Regions from separate parts of the Homo sapiens genome. Here region 1 is linked to region 2. The links are contacts of gene promoters, found by promoter capture Hi-C in blood cells and fetal thymus (Javierre and others, 2016). All regions are on one chromosome and are shown on one strand. The core of a region is centred on a gene start or on the middle of the fragment in contact, and the rest is flanking DNA. Distances in the headings are between cores, read along the strand shown.

Region 1 (3,885 bases), core at 304-2,803, 38 kb before region 2:
TCCAAGCCAACTGCCCAGAGTTGTCCAAAACATCACCAGGACCCGGTGCCTTGGTACCAGCATGGGCCCTTTGAGTCCCTCTGGGTCCCCAGTGGTTAAAGACCACTGAGTGAGTCTCTCCTCACACATAGCTGGTGGTCTTGAGATTTATTTACACATAGTTGCTACGACTCCTTGATGAAGGGGGAAGTTCTTCCTTGCGACTTCTGTTTCTTGAGAAGGGGATTTCTCCTAGCTGAAACACTAGGAAGAAATGATCACGTGAGGTGTCTGATTGGCTAGGTTGTGCCCGTGCTCCCCCTTTCCGTTTGACTCTGTAAGTAAACCTCAGCAGGACAGAAGCTCTTAAAAATCTATGAGAGTTTGACCTGAGTCAACTCCAAAGACCGGGAATATTTGCTCCTTCCAGCTGGATTCTGATTTGGCAACCCTCGGTGATTAGAGGGCTCGTGGAGGTGTTGGAGGTGCAATCCTTGCAATGCACAGAGGTCCCATAGGAAATTCCTTGTCACAAGCAATTGACAATCGGCTCTTCTGAGGCCCCACAAGTTTTTAGATAACCAGAGGGAGAAAGAGAGACAATGATTTAACACTGAAATGACCAAAAATTGGATTTTCAAACATTAAGGCATGCCAGGTTTTCTGGGACTGCAGCCAGCTACATACTATTGCCCATTCTTGTCCACTTGTTTAAACTGATGGACAAATAACATCAAAGAAAATTCAGAGCTCAAGCAACCAATCTGCAGCTAGAGTTATTAACATGTAGAGTCTTCTAAGTTCTCTCTCTTTTTTTTTTCTTTTCTTTCTGAATACGTTGAATCTGCTGACTTTTCTTTTCTTTTTTTTTTTTTTTTTTTGAGACAGAGTCTCGCTCTGTTGCCCAGGCTGGAGTGCAGTGGCACAATCTCGGCTCACTGTAAGCTCCGCCTCCCAGGTTCACGCCGTTCTCCTGCCTCAGCCTCCCGAGTAGCTGGGACTATAGGCACCCGCCACCATGCCTGGCTAATATTTTCTATTTTTTTAGTAGAGACGGGATTTCACTGTGTTAGCCAGGTTGGTCTCGATCTCCTGACCTCGTGATCCGCCCACCTTGGCCTCCCAAAGTGCTGGAATTACAGGCGTGAGCCACCATGCCCAGCCTGAATCTACTGACTTTTCTAGTGCTTTCCAGATAAAACTCATTGTTTATGGTGTTACTAGTTCAAGACTACCTGGAGATTTTGTTTTTCTTACAGAATTCAGCCAGTTCTAACTAAAATGTAGACACTGAATTTTTAACCCTAAACTCATGTAAAACTAAAAAAAAAAAAATGTAAAAGGGGTGTTAAAAATCAAACTGCCATGGAAACTGCTTTACCCAAAATTTGGGTTCACAGCCTTCATTACATTACTCATTAAAGCAAATAAAGTTTAGCCACGTGAACATGTCCCAATTTTGTCAGAAATGTAACTTGGGGCCAGGCGTGGTGGCTCACACCTGTAATCCCAGCACTTTGGAAGGCCAAGGCGGGTAGATCACTTGAGGTAAGGAGTTCAAGACCAGCCTGACCAACCTAGTGAAACCCCATCCTCACTAAAGATACAAATATTAGCTGGGCGTGGTGGTGGGTACCTGTAATCCCAGCTACTCGGGAGGCTGAGGCACAAGATTCGCTTGAACCTGGGAGGTGGAGGTTGCAGTGAGCCAAGATTGTGCCACTGCACTCCAGCCTGGGCAAGAAGAGCGAGAGAGTCTGTCTCAAAAAAAAAAAAAAAAAAGTGTAACTTGGATCCAAACATCTTTTATAAACCAGTGAGTTTCTTATTAATGTCTCATGACTAAAATTCTAAAATGAAAGCTGTAAGACATTTGTGTGTGTGTATGTGTTTGATGTGTTTACAAATATGTACATTTATTATATGTTGTGTCTACGTAGTACCAAATGACTTATAAATAAATGAGTGCTCATAAATTAGTAAGCCCAAATATTTTTGAAGTTCATCTGACTTAAGTAAATCTCTAAGAAATAAGATGGGTTTGAAATTAGTGGTAAAATAAAAGATAGAAATGTCTTCGGAATTGTCAGCATATGTTTTTGCCTGGGTTGAGTGGTCAGACAGGTTTATATGAGCTAATAAATATTTAAGATGTCAGGGTTTAGCATGAAGGCTATAAAACTATAAACCCAGCCAGAAACAGAATGATCTTTATGTAATTTTTTATAAGAAAAATTATTTCATATTGTTGGTTTAATAAAAACAGCTAAATCTTCTGAGTTATCAGAAAAATAGCCATATATATTTAACTTTAATGTTCTTACTTAGGTGAACACCTAATATTCACAGGCTGTAAAAATGGTTAGCAGGAAAATAACTTATAAAATGATGATTCACTTTGTCTAATATCTCAGTTTTTATAATTAATCTAGCCAAAGACCTTATCTTGAGGGTCTAGAAAAGCAATTTACTAAATAAGTAAATGTCAATGGGATAAATGCCTATAAATAAACTTTTCATGTTTGAAATCTTAAATTAAATGTCTCCATTTCCAACTAAGAAAAATTATGTTACATGTTTCTAAAAATTATAATATAAGCTGTGCATGGTGGCTCATGCCTGAAATCTCAGTACTTTGGGAGGCTGAGGCGGGCAGATCACCTGAGGTCAGGAGTTCAAGACCAGCCTGGCTGACATGGCAAAACCCCATCACTACAAAAATACAAAAATTAGCTGGGCATGGTGGCATACACCTGTAGTCCCAGCTGTTTGGGAGGCTGAGGTGGGAGAATCACTTGAACCTGGGAGAAGGAGGTTGCAGTGAGCCGAGATCATGCCACTGCACTCCAGCCTGGGTGATAGAGCGAGACTCCATCTCAAAAATAAAATTATAATATGGTTCTCATCAATAAAATTCTAATATGTGACAGACAATTCAAGATTTCTGGCTTCCTAGGTTTTTACTAAATTTAAGTTTACTAAGAGTTAAAAATTCTAATTTATATATGATTCTGTATATAAATGTGCCTAAAATGTGTTTTTAATTTAAAAATTATTTAAAAGGCATAAAAATATGTTATTTATTAAGAAAAAATAATTTTTGTCTAATTTTCAGGTTTTTAAAAATATGAAACAAAATTAAAAGAAGCCAGCAAGTAGGAGGGAGAGATGTAAAGAAGCTTACGGATATGAAGTTATATTTTTGGTAAGAAAAGTTTAAAAAAGAGAGAGAGAATAATTTTGTATGAGAAAGAATCTTGTATGGTGAAGTTTTTGTCCTAAAGGAAAATGACTGATTATAGGACAAAGCAAAAAGTCCACACATAACTTAAATGGCCTGTGTAAATTGTGATAAGGTTCATGAAAAGAAAATTTTATAAAAGGAATTTTGTATGTGATTAAGTTAGCTATAATTTTGAATAATTATTTATAACAATCTTTCTAAGGTTTGAGTTTTGATATTAAAAATACACTACTACAAAACTAAAAATTGGTTCCCTGTATTAGAACAAAGTTTTCTTAAAGTCTTGATTTGCTCTTAGTAAAATTATAAGAGGTTTTGATTCTTATCTGTTTCTTTTCTTAAACTTCTCAAATTTACATATCAGAAGTTCAACTTTTGCCATGTGATCTGCAGCCATGTATCATTGCCTTCTGTTCCTTTTCCCTTGAAAAGGTGTATCTTTTTGTTTGGCTGGGATTATAACTCTCTCCTTCAATCTTTTCATCAACTCCTGTTCTAACTTTGCTATTGTGGTCTGATGCTTAAGTGCTTATCTTCACAGTTTAGAAAGCAATGTTTCCTCTAGTATAACTGGATTCTGTGCTGTTGGCTTTTCTTTTTGTTTCCTTTCTTTTTCAGACATGGTCTCACTTTGTCACCAGGCTGGAGTGCAGTGGCTTGAT
Region 2 (3,947 bases), core at 110-2,609:
GCGGCCTGCCCGGGACCGGGGCGCCTCGCCTCGCCTCCCCACCCAGACAGACACGCGCAGGGCGACGCAGGCACACGCCGCACACCGCCGCGCACGCGGGACGCCGCCGCCCCGCCCCCGCCGCGACCCCGCTCCCGGTGGCCCCGGGGCCCCGGCGCGCCCACGTGGCCAGGCGCGGACCAAGTCCCCAGAGCACGCGCCCCCTGCCGGCCCCGCCCCGCCTGGGCGCGCGCGGCTCGCACGCAGACCCGGCCGCAGGTGTTGGGGGTCGCGAAGCGCGCGGGGCCGGGGCGCGGAGAGAGAGGGAAGGGCTGGAGCACGAGGGATGGAGCGCACGTACCGGCCAGGCGAACTGGAAGGGGATGACGACGAGGCCCGGGTCCTGGTCGCCGCCGGCCCGGGCCCGCGCCCGCGCTCGGTCCCCCGCAGCGCCCGCCGGCGGCAGGTAGAAGGAGTTGCCGCCCAGCACGGGCGTGGCGCCGTGGCCGTAGCTGCAGGGCCCCGTGGGCGTCACCTTGGCCTGGTACTCCTTAAGGCACACGCGCACGTACGTGTCGCACTCGTCGTGGCCGCAGCCCCCCGCGCGCGTTGTCCGGCCGTCGCCGTCACAGCAGGCGCCGCTCAGCAGCTCCCCGTTCACGTTCCGCAGCGCGCTCAGCTGCAGCTCGAAATAGCCCATGGGCCGCGCCGCCTAAAAATAAGGCAGCGGGAGAGCGGAGGGAGGCGCGGGCCGGGGTCGGCGGGCCGGGCGCCAGGGGTGGGGGAACAGGCCCCGCCGCCCCGCCCCCACCCAGCCGCGCCCGCCCGGAGCCCCAGCCGCCGCGCGCAGCCTCGAGGGCTTCCGAACCACGGCGGCCCCAGGCAGTGCCCGCCCGGCCCCTAGGGGCGGCCCGGTGTGCCCCGTCCGCGACCCCCGCCGCCCCCGCCGCCCCGCTCACCTGCACCCAGAGCGCCAGCAGCAGCAGCAGCCGCCGGGGAAGGCGCCCCCGGCCCTGCGCCCGCATTGCCCCCGCGACCCGCCCGCCCGGCCCCGCCGCCGCCGCCCGCGCCCGGCTCCCAGCCGCCGCGCCGGCCTCCCAGCGCCCGCCCGCCCTCCGAGCGCCCGCAGAGGCAGCGGCAGCGGCAGAGGCGGCGGCGGCGGCGGCGCGGGCGGGGTCGAGCGCAGCGCCGCGGCGCGCGGGCCTGGGCGGCGGGCGTGCAGGGGCGGCGGCAGCTCCGGCTCGCTGGCGGCCGCGCTCCGGCTGCCCGGCCCGGCTCCCACCCGGCGGCGACGGCGGCGGCGGTGAAGGCAGCGGGTCCCGGCCTCGGCTCTGCGCGCCCGCGCTCCCGGCACCGCAGCCAACAAGTTCGGAACGAGACTGACAGCTCGCTCGCCCATTCGTCACCCGCGCACCTGCATATGCATGAGGGGGCGGGGCCGCGCCGCGGGGTGGGGCCGGGGGGGGGTCCGGGGGCGCCCCAGGCTTTAAAGGCGGTGGAGGGCGTCGCCTGCCAGCGCCCCGGCCCGGCGCGCGCCCCCCAGGGCGCCCGGGCGGCGGGGGCACGGGGCCTCGGGGTCAGCGCGGGCCGCGGGGGCCCCGCTCACACCTCCGCGTGAGTCGGCGAGGCGTGCGCCGGCGCCGCAAAGCTGCCTCCCCTCCTCCGCCTGGGCTCCTGCCGGGTGTCAGAAACCGGGGGTGGGGCGCCCCGAGGTTGCCGTGTGGTCCCCTCCCATCAGTGCGCCACCGCCGCGCTCCTCGCAGTCCCAGAGGAGATGCCGCCTCCTACTCTGATCAGGGCTCGGCCCCCACGCGGGGTGGCGCGGCCCTGGGGCCAGAGCCGGGCCCAGCCCCTACTGCGCGCCCCCCACCTCCTCCGAGAATCTCCCCTTCTCCGCGCCGCTCCTACCGCCTCCACGCCGGCTGCAGGGGGCGCTGCGCCCCTCCGACGCCCCTGCCTTCCCCTCTGCGAGGCGCGCTGGTCAAGCAGCCAGTCAACAAATGCTCCAGGGTGCAGACTGCTCAGCTCGGCGCTGGCGTCGAGGTAGCCAGGCCATGCCCTCAGGAAATGCTCAGGCCACATTCCCCGTTTCCCGCCTCTCGCCCCCCAAACTCAGGTCTGGGCTTGGGGGGCGAGAGGCGGGAAATGGGGAACAAAAGTCGGCAGTGCCTGTCCCTGAAGGCTACCCCGAGAGAGGCCTCCCACTGCTGCCCTGGTCACCAGGCTTCCACACCCCATCCTCTGCGGTCACCTCCTTGCCCTCTCCCTGGGTGACCTCGCAGCTCCTCCACAGGGTCAAAACCAATGGCACCTTCCTCTCCTCCAGTGAGCACGGTCCTTTCCAGAGCTAGGGGTCACCTTGGTGGTTAAAGATCCCCATATGGTCCAGAGGGGTCCTCAACCCATCCCCATGATAACTGAGCTGTCTTCTCTCCCCCTAGCTCCTCTCGCAAATTTGCCCTGTGCCCGGAGCTGGGTGGCTGTGCAGCCCCCCAGCCTGGAGCAAGTCACTGCCACCATGCTGCTGGGGCTGAGGGCTGAAGGAAGAGAGCTTTGGAGGCACAGGGCCTGTGAACACCCCATGCGCAGGGTCTGCCTGCTCCATCCCTGTTTAGCAGCTCCTCCAGGATCCAGGCCGCAGGCTCAGCTGAAGGTCCCTAAAGGGGTGGGTGGGAGCCCCCCATGCCCACCTCAGCTGGCTCTGCTCAGAGTGCCCACCCCAAACTTGGTGGTGGGTAGGCTTCGTGGGGATTAAGACACAAGCCAGGATGAGGCCCGCACAGAGACCCCCACCAAACAAGAGAATCCAAGCTGTGTTCAGAGCCTTCCAGTTGCCGCCTTCCGGTGTGTGGGCGGTGATTACCGCCTACGGGGGGAGGGGCTCCCTGTGGAGATGCCACCTCTCCTGTGCTTTGGCCTGGGGGCAGGTACTCGGGTACTCGAGAGAGGGAAGCCCCAGGACAGAGAAGCCCCCTGCCCGGCTCCAGAGGCCCAGGGCTCCATCCCCACCTGCGCCCACTGCCCCACTATGGTGGGGGAGGGGGTGCTGGGTGCCTCTGCTGGGCACTTGGCCAAGTGGTGAACAAGGGAGACTCCGCCCCTGCACACCCTCAGGAGCCCCCAGCCCGGGGGTGGACAGAGGACTTAGACAAGTCATACAGAAGCTGGCATAGGGGGCCGCCAGAGCGTGGACGGGCATGGGTCAGCCAGACCTCACGATGTCCATGAGAGCACCCAGGTCAGGAAGGTGGCCGCACCTGCCCTTAGGAAGGAGGGGGACATAGGAGGCATCGGAGAGGGGGTCCCTTCCCTGCAGGAATTTCAGCAGCCCTTGAGCCAGAAATGCCAGGCAGCTGGACCCTGGTTTGAGTTTCCAGAAGGCAGCAGTGGGAACCCTCGCCCCTCATACATATTTCACAAAACACATTTGCCCCCTGCTGCACCTTGCTGGGGTGAGGGGCTGAGATCAGTGGCGGCCAGGGCTCCAGCCCCAACCCTCACCAGACCAGGCTACCTGGTCTCTTCTAGTAAGGGACCTCGTCATTGTTCTGGGGCCCACTGGACCACAGCACCCTCCAGCCTCCCAGAGCCACCCGTCCCCCAGCCTGGAGGGCTCCCACTCTGAGCGCTGGGCGGTGCCCAGCTTGTATGCAGAGGGCAAGGGTGCAGCTGCTCAGCCTGGCCAGGGGCTCTGGGCCCATAGGGCAGTCCTGGGGACCAGGCTGAGGACGGGCTGCCAGGGGTTTGGACAGAGCCGGCGAGGCTCCAGAGTAAGCTGTGCTTCCGCTGGGTCCTGCAGTGCTAAATATAGCAGACGGGGAGGGGAGTTTCCGGTTACAACCCCCCCTCCAGTGCCGGGAAATCAATGCCAGCTCCATTAGGCCCGGCAGCACTGCCTGCTGACCCACCCCATCGGGCTGCGGAGCAAAGTGAGGGGCTGGACTACACCCAGGTCCGGGTGCCCTGTC

What was found. The method cuts DNA at HindIII sites, captures the fragments that hold promoters and counts their contacts. A CHiCAGO score of 5 or more calls a contact.
Region 1: a contact is called between a fragment that was not itself captured here and the fragment with the promoter of JAG2 in region 2, in 1 of 17 cell types (endothelial precursors). The highest score is 5.0, in endothelial precursors.

What each region holds. Positions count from the first base shown.
Region 1 is chr14:105,129,329-105,133,213 of GRCh38, forward strand. No RefSeq gene overlaps it. Among named protein-coding and RNA genes, the nearest start is that of MIR6765, 20 kb to the right of the region's middle. The HindIII fragment of the contact is 3,206 bases long and covers 1-3,156 here.
Region 2 is chr14:105,167,417-105,171,363 of GRCh38, forward strand. JAG2 (jagged canonical Notch ligand 2) reads right to left here and starts at 1,360. Exons shown (of 26, transcript NM_002226.5): 1 at 939-1,360; 2 at 341-691. The coding sequence starts at 1,004. RefSeq lists enhancers at 82-581, 3,230-3,947. The HindIII fragment of the contact is 17,945 bases long and covers 1-3,947 here.